Linked DNA regions of Homo sapiens: region 1 is linked to region 2. Evidence: promoter capture Hi-C in 16 types of primary human blood cells and fetal thymus (Javierre and others, 2016). All regions are on one chromosome and are shown on one strand. Each heading gives the region's core, a stretch centred on a gene start or on the middle of the fragment in contact. The rest is flanking DNA. Distances are from core to core; before and after follow the strand shown. Region 1 holds the start of PATE4 (prostate and testis expressed 4). Region 2 holds the start of PATE2 (prostate and testis expressed 2).

Region 1 (6,206 bases), core at 2,660-5,159, 54 kb before region 2:
AGGGTAGGGAGACGACATTGGAGCCTATGGGTAATTTAGATTTAAGGACTAAGTGATGGTGATGATGGGGAAAGTAGATTATTTCAATCTTCATCTCAGACGTTCCAAGGTTATAGAATCCGAATTTATATGGAGCCCAGGAGGACTTGAGTGCTATTGATTTATGTCCAATTTTGGGAATGGTCTTGTGGCATCTCTTCATTCTAAATTCCATTCTCACTATTCCATCAAGACTATCTTGTTGCTAACGACCTCTTAATGATAAATCCAATTGCCTTTGCATAACCCTAAAGTTTATTCATTTTTTCGTTCACTCAGCAATGTTGAATTGAAGTGGTGAGAGTGAACATCCTTCTCTTTTCCTCTTATTTAGAGGGAAAGGATGATGTTAGTTGCTGGGTTTTGAGCATGTTCCACATTCTGGACATTTTTTTAGGTGCTGGGAATGCAAAGATAAACGTGTTTATATACATGCTGGGGAGACAGGCATTAAACAACCCCTCCAAATTATGTACAGTTGTATTATAATATCAAGAAATAAACTTGCAATGAGAGCATTTAAGAGGGAAGAACTAACGTATTTTAGAGAGCCAAGGAAGGTTTCTGTGGGGAGTGGGATGTAAGGTGGGGCCTGATGATAAATAAGAGTCAGCCAGGTAAGTGGGTGGTGTGGTATGGGCACAGTGAAGAACATTTCAGGCAGAGGGAACAGCAGTGAAAAGAAGCTTGTCTGCTGAGGGACAAAAATGCTAATGTAACCGGGGCACAGAATGGAGTGGGTTGTGCTATGAGACATGGCTGGTCAGGTGAGCAGAGATTCAACTTCCTGAGCCCTCCTAGGCCAAAGACATGAGTATGGTTTTTGATCCATGAGCAATGGGAATTTATCGAAAAATTTTAAGCAAGGAAGTGATCTGATCCTATTTACATTTATCTAGCAGGTCAACGTGGGACTTAAAAGGGGCAAACAGAAAATAATTTTATTCTTCTGCCCACTACCCATCTGAGTATTCTTTCTAAAGCTAGTTCTCCTAGTCCTGCAGGTAATTTCAGGCAAGGCTCCTAACTTGTCTATGTACTTTTAGAAAAAAAAAAAAAAAAGTCTTGCCATCACTTTCGGGCATAAGAATAATCTGGGTTCAGTAATTTATGCATTGAGTGCCATGCAATAATAATAAAATAGCTCTATTAAAAGCCCACGTTTCTCACCAACAACCCGCTCTCCCTGTATGCATGCCCATGCACACCCACCCACCCACACACACGTATGCACAGACACATAGCTCAGGCTTGCTTAGGTGTTTGTAATGGGCAGGAGGGGGTGGCTTTAACTTTTTCTCTATTTCTCTTCTTGGTTTCCTCCTACTCACCTCTGGCTTATGAGTGATAGTTTCTGACCCATTTCAGTTGGTGAGAAGGAGGGGGACAGGTAAAGGACAGGAAAGATGTCATCGGACTGGCTCTGGTGCCGTCATCTTTTGTCTATGGTAGTTACTTAAAACCCAATCTCTTGGACTTTGTATTTAATGAAAGCTGACTCATTTTCTTGAGCCAGGAGAACTCATTTTCTTGAGTTCCTTGAGTCAGGAGAACATTTGCGGGTTCTTCAGGATTTCCCCCACAAAAAATATTCAAGTCCACTGCTGTATCGTGAGTGGTGTATTTCCTGCAGCTGGTGGTTATATTTTCTCTCAGCTGTAAGAAGGTAGTGGCCCACACCTTGCTAGAATACCTTTTTCCTCCAGACAGCGCTCTTGGATAGAACTTTAAACAGCTCAAGCCTGACTTGCTTGATATGGCATGGCCCAGATCAGATCCAGGGGAATGTATGCACATCCTCCCTGCTTGTATGTAATGCAACTCAGCTGTCTTTCAGTTCCACCATTTCAGGGCTGTACCCTCCGGCTCCCTCGCACCTTTGGGTTCCTCAAGCTCACTGTGCCTTCCAAACACCAGAGGACACTATCAATTTCTCCCTGAAGCAACTTTCATGAGGCTTCTCTCTTTCAGAGGAGTTGGGAGCAGGCTGCGCAGTACACTGATAATGCTCTTCGAATAATTGTCTCTTTGATCTTTAACCTGAGTATTTCCAATTTCAACATTCTAAAAATGCATTATTTAAAAATAGGTAATACATTGATGTGACTAAATAGTAAGTAATAGAAAAAGAATGTTGTGTAAAGTTGATCTCCCACTCTTGCCAGCTAGTTATCCAGTTTTCATCTGCCAAATAAAGGAAACCAGTTTTATTCATTTCTTTTATATCTTTTAGATTGATTTTCAGTATATTCAAGCAAATATAAATATGCACATGTATCTTTTTACCCCCTTTTCATAATTGGTAGTATACTATGCATACTCTGCACTTTGATTTTTTGAATAATGTATACTAAGTGTATAGTATTCCACTGTAGTGCTGTACCATGCTTTAATTAACCAGTCTCTTATGAGAATTTAAGTTATTTGCACTTTTTGATATTATCTGCTGCAATAAATAATGCTGAACATATTTCATTTGTGTGGGAGTATATCTATAAGATAATTTCATGCAAGCAGAATTGCTGGATAAAAAGTAAACACTTTTGTAATTTTGATAGGTATTGCTGAATTGCCCACCAGAGGAGATGTAACTATTCTGTTGCTATCAATGCTTGGAAAATTCTTGTCTCACCACAACTTTAATACTCAAATATTTTATCAAACTCCTGGATGTTGACAATCTGATAGGTCAAAAATGGTGTATCAGTGTTCTTTTAATTTGCATTTTTCTTAGTATGAGTGAGATTGAGCACTTTTTATATGTTTAATAGCCATTTTCATTTTCTTTTGTGTGAACTATCTACATACTTTGCCCATTTTTCTATTAGGTTGTTGGCCTTTTCCTTTTTGATTTTTTTAAAGGAGGCATTACATATCAGGGATATTAGCCATTTGTTTGATGTGAGTTGCATTTTTAATTTTTGCCATGAGGAATATTTTGATATTCATGTGTCAAATTTGTCAGTTTTTCTTTTAAGAGCTCTGGATTTTGAGTCATAGTTAGAAAGGTCTTTCTCATTTCTAAGCTTACAAACAAATTATGTCACATTTTCTTATAATTCTTTTATGGTTTATTATTTCTTACTAAGTGTCAAAAGGTAGCAAAATAGAAATATAAGGTAGAAATATAATCATATTTGAAGCACATTTAATAGGTAGAAAGCATAGGAATCATTCACTAATTTTTAGTGAGTGTTAAGGGAGAGGGAGATTTCAAGGGTGACTTCCAAGTGTAGGAGGTGTTTGTTGATGAAAGACTGAAGCTCAGAATAGAAATCTGGCTAGGATATAAAACTGGGCATTTTCAGCATATAGATTGTAATTGAAGCCATGGAAGTGGGTAAGTTGATATAGAGGAGGGTCTGAGTGGATAGTATAAAGCCTTAAGGTATCCCAGTGTTTAATGATCAGGTAGAATAAAGAATCCTACAAAATACACTGAGAAGTAGCCAGAGGAAAGGAAAACTAGGAGAGTGTAGGAGATAATAAAGGAGAAAAGTATATTAAGAAAGAAAGGGTCCAAAATGAGATAAGTATGGATGAAAAGTCAATTAATATGAAGTTGGAAAATTGTCCTGTTTCCCTGCAATCAGTAGTACATTTTCTTCCGGATTAGTGTGTTATATATGATCTCTCTGACATCCTGAAACTCAGATTGTACTGAGTCTTTGGGTCTCAGCTGGAGCATGTGAGTGAGACTTGGAGAGTAGAGGTTTAGAGAACAGCACCCCTAAGTTGCCTCCCTCCACCCCCATTGTTCAAACTTACCCTCTTTGAGGTAGAGAAAAGATAAGCTCACAAGGAGCAGTGTGTTCATTTTCCTCATTGGATGCTTGTTTGGGTGACAGACGGTGTGCTGAGTGAGGTATTGGAAAGGGCAGCCACTAGCTTGCTTTATAAAGCTTAGATGTTCGATCACAGCCAGTAAATAGAAAGGAGGGAGGAGTCCCTGATAAAGGCATGAGGCAGAACCGTCCTTTCCCCACTCCCTTCTCTTAAGGAGCCATAAATCTGTACTAATGTGGAAAGTGCAGGCTGGTGAGCAGTGTCAGGGAATGCTTCTGGCTAAAGTTGAATTAGATTTCCACCCCTGACTCTCCATCCTCCCTCTGCCTTCCCTGCCCCATATCTGTCTTCTCCTCACTTTTTTTTTTTAAGAGACAGGGTCTCACTCTGTTGCCCAGGCTGGAGTGCAGGGGCTCATTGCAGCCTCAAACTTTTTGGTTTACACGATCCTCCTGCTTCAACCTCCAGTGTAGCTGGGACTACAGTCGCTACTCACCCTTTTTTCTCTATGTGTCTGCGTGTGTGTGTGTGTGTGATTGTTACGGTTTGATTGTCCCCTCCAAATCTCATGTTGAAATGTAATCCATAAAGTTGGAGGTGGGGCATGGTGGGAGCTGTTTGAGTCATGGGGGCAGATCCCTCATGAATTGCTTGGTGCCATCCTCATTGTAATGAGTGAGTTCTTGCTCTGGTAGTTCAAGCGAGAGCTGGTTGTTTAAAAGAGTGTGGAACCTCCCCTTCCCTTCTCTCTGTTGTTCCCTTCTCTCTCTTGCTCTCATTCTTGCCATGTAATACACCAACTCCTTTTTTGCCTTCCACCATGATTGCAAGCTCCCTGAGGCCCTCACCAGGAGCAGATGCCAGCACCATGCCTCCTGTACAGCCTGCAGAACTGTGAGCTAATTAAATCTCTCTTCTTTACAAATTACCTAGTCTCTGGTATATCTTTATAGCGATGCAAAAATGCACTAACAGAAAATCGATACTGAGAAGTGGGGTGTTGCTATAAAGATACCTGAAAATGTTGAAGAAGCTTGGGAACTGGGTAATGGGCAGAGGTTGGAAGAATTTAGAGGGCTTAGAAGACAGGAAAATGGGGGAATGTTGGAATTTCTTAGAAACTTGTTACGTGGTTGTGACCAAAATACTGATAGAAATATGGATAGCAAAGGCCAGGCTGAGGAGTTCTCAGATAAAAATGAGGAAGCTCTTTGGAACTGGAGCAAAGGTCACCATTGCTATGCCTTAGCAAAGAGCTTGGCTGCATTGTGTCCACGGCCTGGGAATTTGTGGAAGACTGAACTTAAGAATGATGACCTAGGGTATCTGGCAGAAGACATTTCTAAGCAGTACAGTGTTCAGGATGTGATATGGCTGCTTCTAACAGCCCACAATTATGTATGGGAGGAAAGAAATAACTTAAAGTTGGAACTTACATTTAAAAGATAAGTAGAGGCTGGGCACAGTGGCTCAAGCCTGTAATCCCAGCACTTTGGGAGGCCAAGGAGGGCGGATCATGAGGTCAAGAGATTGAGACCATTCTGGCCAACATAGTGAAACCCCATCTCTACTAAAAATACAAAAATTAGCTGGGTGTGGTGCACACCTGTAGTCCCAGCTACTCGGGAGGCTGAGGCAGGATAATCACTTGAACCCAGGAGTTGGAGGTTGCAGTGAGCTGAGATCACACCACTGCACTCCAGCCTGGTGACAGAGTGAGACTCTGTCAAAAAACAAAACAAAACAAAACAAAAAAATGATAAGTAGAGCATAAAAATTTGGAAAATTCTTATGTGGCAGAGAAGGAATGAATGTTTTCAGGAGAGGAATTCCAGTGGCCTATGGAGGAACTACTTGCTAGATATATTTGCATGACTAAAAGGGAGCCAAGAGCTGTTATCCAATAATAGCTATTATTATGTAATAATATATTATTGGATAACAGCTCTCGGCTAATAATATCCAAGACAATGGGAAAAAGGCCATGAAGACATTTCAGAAATCTTCAAGGCAGCCCCTCTTATCACAAGCTCAGAGGCCTAGGAGGAAAGAATGTTTTCAGGGGCCAGGCCCAGGGCCCTTCTGCCCTGTGCAGCCTTGGGACACTGCTTTCACATCCTGGCCACTCCAGCTCCAGCTTCATCTCAAAGGGGCTCTGGTACAGCTTGGGCCATTGCTCTGAAAGGTTCAAGCTATAAGCTTTGGCAGCTTCCACATGGTGCTAAGCCTGCAGGTGTGCAGAATGCAAGAGTGAAGGAGGCTTGGCAGCTTCCACCTCAATTACAGAGGATGTATGGAAAAGTCTGGGTGCTCAGGAAGAAGCCTGCTTCAAGGGTACAGCCCCCACAGAGAGGATCTACGAGGACAGTGCCAAGGGAAAA
Region 2 (6,295 bases), core at 1,293-3,792:
AAGATCAAGAGACAAAGAAGGCCATTACATAATGGTAAAGGGATCAATTCAACAAGAAGAGATAACTATCCTAAATATTTAAGCACCCAATACAGGAGCACCCAGATTCATAAAGCAAGTCCTTAGAGACCTACAAAGAGACTTAGACTCCCACACAATAATAATGGGAGACTTTAACACCCCACTGTCAACATTAGACAGATCAATGAGACAGAAGGTTAACAAGGATATCCAGGACTTGAACTCAGCTCTGCACCAAGCACACCTAATAGACATCTACAGAACTCTCCACCCCAAATCAACAGAATATACATTCTTCTCAGCACCACATCACGCTTATTCCAAAATTGACCACATAGTTGGAAGTAAAGCACTCCTCAGCAAATGTAAAAGAACAGAAGTTATATCAAACTGTCTCTCAGACCACAGTGCAATCAAACTAGAACTCAGGATTAAGAAACTCACTCAAAACCACTCAACTACAAGGAAACTGAACAAGCTGCTCCTGAATGACTACTGGGTACATAACGAAATGAAGGCAGAAATAAAGATGTTCTTTGAAATGAATGAGAACAAAGACACAACATACCAGAATCTCTGGGACACATTTAAAGCAGTGTGTAGAGGGAAATTTATAGCACTAAATGCCCACAAGAGAAAGCAGGAAAGATATAAAATTGACGAGCTATTGTCTAATTTTATTCCTTACTGATATATTAAGTTACAGCCCCATCAGCAATGTATGACAGTGCTCATTTTACTCCATCTTGCCAACACAGTTGTGTTACTAAATTCTGATTATTGCAAATCTGTTAAGTAAAACTAATATCCTAAAATTAGGAGCAAGGTTCACCATATTTCATGTGTTTAAGAAGCATTTCTGTTTCTTTTTTCTGTGAACTATGACATTATTATTGACTGCGTCTCTCCCCTTTGAATTGTTAATCTTTTAAAAATCAATTTCTGGAATATCTTTGTATAATAGGGAGATTCGCCCTTAGTCTGAGATATGAGTTGCAAATATTTTTAATGGTTTATTTGTTATTTGGTCTTTGCTTATGGATTAATGATTGGTTTTCCATCTATGTAGAAGATTTTTTAAAAATATAGATAAACATATCTTTTTTATGGTTCTGTTTTTTGAGCCATATATAGAAAAGTAACCCTCACACTAGACTATAGAAACTCCTTCCATTTTATTTTCTGGCACTTCACTGTTCATTTATACCCTCCAGGTGGGCAGCAAGTCCAGGATATTAAACACGGTTTCATTGATTTTCTTTGTAAATCTGCCTAAGTAGCATAGCATTTCACTTTGAAATGTGAAACACTTGCTACCTACTATCTTGGGACCCTTGCTGGAATGTAGAAAGTCTCATTTCTTGTCTTTATTATAGTTCAAAAAACCAGTCTGATAAAGCTGGATGCTCTGTGGAGAATGGACTGGAGGGATGCAAGGCAGGATATGGGAAGAACATTATTAATTCCTCCCACAAATATTTGTTGGGCATTTCCTTTGTTCCCAGCCTCTAGATGCCAAGTGTGCCATGATAAACCAAAGAAACCCCTTGCTTTGTTCTAGTGGAGGAGTAAAAAAGTGAGCCAATAGCAATGTAAGATCAGCTTATTAGAATTGCAATGAAACATACCACAGGGAAAAAGGTAGGAAATGAAGGCTGTCATTTTCTAGAGATTAAGCAGAAAATGCTGCTCTGTCTGAGGGAGTGACATTTGAGCAAAGACCTGAGTGAGCCAGGGAAATGTGGAGAGAAAGGAGATTGGAGGGGAGGCCATTGCTCATAATGACAAAGCCATTGCCGGCTATGATAAAAACTCTGGATTTTCTTTCAAAGGTAATAAAAAGTCGTCAGAGTGTTTTCAGCAGGGGTGTGGCATCTATGACTTGTTCTCTGACTGCTTTATGAAGAAATGATTATGAAGGGGCAGAGGAGAAGCATGGAGGCCAGAAATAAGGCCATTGCTTGGTCCAGGCAAGACATAATAGACTGGATTATGGTAATGGCAGTGGCGACAGAGAATAATAAACCCATGTGAGAAGTTAGTAGGTAGAATGGATAAGACTTGCTGTTAGATTGCTCAATGAGGATGAAACACAAGAAGATGTAAAGAACACCTCCCAGATGTATTAAAACCTGCAACATTGTGAGGAGAGACTGGGCAGGACTGAATAACTGTTGGGTGCTATGTTCACTACCTGGGTGACGGGATCATTCGTACCCCAAACCTCAGCATCAAGCCATATACCCCTGTAACAACCCTGCACATGTACCCCCTGAATCTAAAATGAAAGTTGAAAATACTTTTTAAAACTCTGCAATATTGAAGTAGGAGCAGGTCTGGTGAATCAGGAACATTACCATTTCATTTTCATTAGAGGATTTGCACAAAATCAAAGTGAGTACCCTCTTTAGAATGCTGTGCAGCAATCAGATATGGTGGTTTGGCTTGGAACATTGCCATACTGCCTGTCCCTGAAATTTTATGATTATATAATTTAGATGACTAGCCCAAGGACAGATCACAAGAGAACAACTTGCTCCTTCCACAGGAAGCTGCACCTGACAGAAGCTCCAGGATGCTTGTTCTCTTTCTCCTGGGCACAGTCTTTCTGCTCTGCCCATATTGGGGTAAGTCCTGGAGACAGAGGGGAAGCTGGTGGTTGGTTAAGAGACGGACAGATGCTGGGGGAAGAGAAAGTTTTCAAAATTGGCTCTTGGGGCAGTGGCAGATGTATGTGAGACTGTAACATGGAAGGTTTTTCTTCTTTTCACAGGTGAACTTCATGACCCTATAAAAGGTACAATCATGGCTTCTCTGAAGTCCTTGGTAAACAGGCAATTTGTGACATGTTTAGGAGCAAACCTTTCCTTCATCTTCAGAGAGGCCTGTAATCCATTCTTATTATAGAATCCTAGGGGTTTCGCCTCCTGCCAGACCTGTTTTGTCCATTTCTTAGAGTAAGGAGGCTAAGATCCACTTTACTTTCTTTTACCCATTACTCGGCAAAATCATCAGGCTAGATAAGGGGTTCATTACTGGAGGTCCATGGATAAATTTCATGGGAACCCTGACCTCCTGAAATCATATACAGTGTTTGATTTATGTTTGTACAGGTTATCTTTCACAAGATTTTTTTAATTGGAGAAAATGTGTACAAATTTATTAATGTGTACATGGGGAGGACCGCAGCATGATTATCCCTATCTTTCTCAAGATTACCAAGAGTCCATGGTCCAAAAAATGTTAGGAACCACTAGGCAAGAATAAGGTCCTGTAGTGAAGCCCCCAGCCCCAGAGAATATTCTCAAGACTGCATCCTCTAAGCACCTCTTTTTGTATCTGGCAGCGACTGAAATAATGTGTTATGAATGTAAAAAATATCATCTTGGGTTATGCTATGGTGTCATGACATCCTGCTCCCTGAAGCATAAACAGTCCTGTGCAGTTGAGAACTTTTACATCCTTACAAGGAAAGGTAATGTGGAGTATAGAGTGACTGGAAAATCACCACCACCATCCCTGAGAAACAGTAGTGTTCTTTTGCCCTCAGCGTGAGTAGGTGAATGGGATGGGTGAGTATGGGGTGGTCTTGAGGGGATGGCAAAGACAGACTTTTCCCTAAGACCATATTGAGTGAAAAAGAGGCTGATGTCCCTTACCTGGCAGGGAATAAAATCTACTCTCTGGGTCAGCAATTAACAGACTCAGCTTTGGAACTCATTTGGGCCTAGAGAAAGGTTAGTGAGGACACAAAAACAGATTACTCCTAGGAACGCAGTAAAAGGAAATGAGGTCATTATGATCATATTTCCTCTCTTTTACCTCCTCAGGGCAGAGCATGTATCATTATTCAAAACTGTCGTGTATGACCAGCTGTGAGGACATCAACTTCCTGGGGTTCACGAAGAGGGTAGAGCTCATCTGTTGTGATCATAGTAACTACTGCAACCTCCCTGAGGGAGTTTAGTTCTACGTCTCTCCTGGATTTTGGGTTCTTTTTCAACCACTACGCTCTTTTTCTCTTCCCTGAACCTGAATTTTGCTCTCCTCTTCTATGCATTGGTAGAGAGTGAGAAAGCCAGCTCATAGTGAAAAGACAAGCAGGCATAAGGAGACGCAGTGTGGACAGCGGAGCCTATTGATGATGGAGCACTAGACTCACTCTTTGCACATCCCTGTCGCTAACAGGTGGGAGGGGTTTTGCTCTCCTTACGTGATACTGCCATGAATAAGCTCAGACTTGGTCATTTATTATCTCCTGTATGAAAATGTGAACACTTGGGCCATAATAATCTCCAATTTGTACTGAGAATTCTGTGACTATCCTCTATCCTCATCTACACACACACTCCTCTCCGTTGGAATTCTCTTTGGATTAGCCCTGACACTTTCTGGCACTGTCCTTTTCTGCCCGTGGGTTCTGGAGAGGGCTAACCCCAGCTTCCCAGTGTGTTGGCAGCATGGGCCAAGTCTTTCTCTGATAGAGCTCTTGGGGGAACCTCAGGGCAGAAAAAAAAAAACTGAACAGACATAGGGATGAGCATCAAAGAAAACTTCAGGGGGCATTTCAACTGGTAAAAACTAAGATCTGAGAAATAACTTGCTGTGGGTGGAATTGGCTTGAATTATCATTGCCCTGGCTGGCCAGGCAGCCTTGGGCACATGGTTGAACTAGGTGATTGGATTGGGAACAGAGTGTTTTTTTAAGGATGGCTAGTCAGGTTCTTCTCATGGGACTGAGCAAACAAAATGCTGATAATGTGGCAGGTGGTGTAGTAGTTGAAGATAATAGGATGTAAATAGATACCATGAGGTAGTGTTCAAGTAACAGAGTGCCCTGTGTAAGAGGAAGTTATGAGTTTGCAGAAAGTGTGAGAAAGGTAGCATATATGGGTAACAGTGGTGGGAAGAGAAGAAGGAAGACACAGAAACAGATAGGAAGAGAAACTGAGTAGCATTGATGTTGGAGCACACCTGTGGCCAAGGTGGCACATTTTCCTTGGATACACACTAACCCTGGTGTTTCTGTCCTTATAAGGCTGACTGCACCCTAGATGACGGGTTGATGGGTGCAGCAAACCACCATGGCACATGTATACCTATGTAACAAACCTGCATGCTGCACTTTCTTTCATGTATCCCAGAACTTAAAGTAAAATAAAAAAATAAATAAATAAATAAAGGCCAGAAAAATTGGCCAAAAAATCTGAATAGAAAAAGATATACAGATAGTAAATGAGCATATGAAAATATGCTTAACATCATATCTCACTAGGGAATTGCAAATTAAAACAACAATATTACGCAACTATACATTTTAAATGGTCAAAATCAAAAAAATAAAAAACCCTCACAGTAGCAATTTTTGTCAAAGATATAGAGCAATAGGAAATCTCATTTATTGCTGGCAGGAATGCAAAATGGTAATGCTGTTTTGGAAGACAGTTGGTAGTTTCTTAGAGAGGTGATTATACTCTTGCTATGTCATTCAGTAATCATGCCTTTAGATATTTACTCAACCAATTTGAACAGTTATGCCCACACAGAAACCTGCACACAAATGTTAAAATCATATTTATTCATAATTGCCTGAGACTAGAAGCAATAAAGATGCCCATCAATAAGTGAATGGATATGTAATCTATGGTACATCCAAACAGTGGGATGCTACTCAATGATGAAAAGAAATGATCTATCAAGCTATGAAAGGACATGGATACATTTTTAAATGAATATTGCTAAGTTAATGAAGCCAGTCTGAAAAGGCTACATACAGATGCTCCTCAACTTATGATGGGGTTATATCCTGTTATAACAATTGCAAGTTGAAAATACTGTGAACTGAAAATGCATTTAAAACACTTAACCTTCCAAACATCATAGCTTAGCCTAGCCTACCTTAAATGTGCTCAGGATGTTTACATTAGCCTATAGTTGGGCAAAAGCATCTAACACAAAGCCAATTTTATAATTGGCTTTGAGTATCTCATGTAATTGAGTATTTCATGTAATTTATTGACTACTCTACTGAAAGTAAAAAACAGAATGCTTGTATGGGTACTAAAGTATGGCTTCTACTGAATGCTTATTGCTTTCACACATCTTAAAGTTTAAAAAACTTGTAAGTCAAATCATTGTAAGTCTGGGAACATGTGTACTCTGATTCCAATTTTGTAAAAGACCAAAGTATAGGGTTGGTGAAAATATCAATGACTGCCAGTGGATTAAGAGGAAAAAAGGGATTGAATAGGTAAAGTATAAAAGATTTTTTAGG

What was found. The method cuts DNA at HindIII sites, captures the fragments that hold promoters and counts their contacts. A CHiCAGO score of 5 or more calls a contact.
Region 1: a contact is called between the fragment with the promoter of PATE4 here and the fragment with the promoter of PATE2 in region 2, in 7 of 17 cell types (monocytes, neutrophils, activated CD4 T cells and 4 more). The highest score is 7.2, in monocytes.

What each region holds. Positions count from the first base shown.
Region 1 is chr11:125,831,019-125,837,224 of GRCh38, reverse strand. PATE4 (prostate and testis expressed 4) reads right to left here and starts at 3,909. Exons shown (of 3, transcript NM_001144874.1): 1 at 3,808-3,909. The coding sequence starts at 3,865. The HindIII fragment of the contact is 876 bases long and covers 3,068-3,943 here.
Region 2 is chr11:125,775,075-125,781,369 of GRCh38, reverse strand. It overlaps PATE2 (prostate and testis expressed 2), which reads left to right and starts at 2,542. Exons shown (of 4, transcript NM_212555.3): 1 at 2,542-2,648; 2 at 2,795-2,818; 3 at 3,368-3,496; 4 at 3,852-5,257. The coding sequence starts at 2,597. The coding sequence ends at 3,988. The HindIII fragment of the contact is 7,529 bases long and covers 1-6,295 here.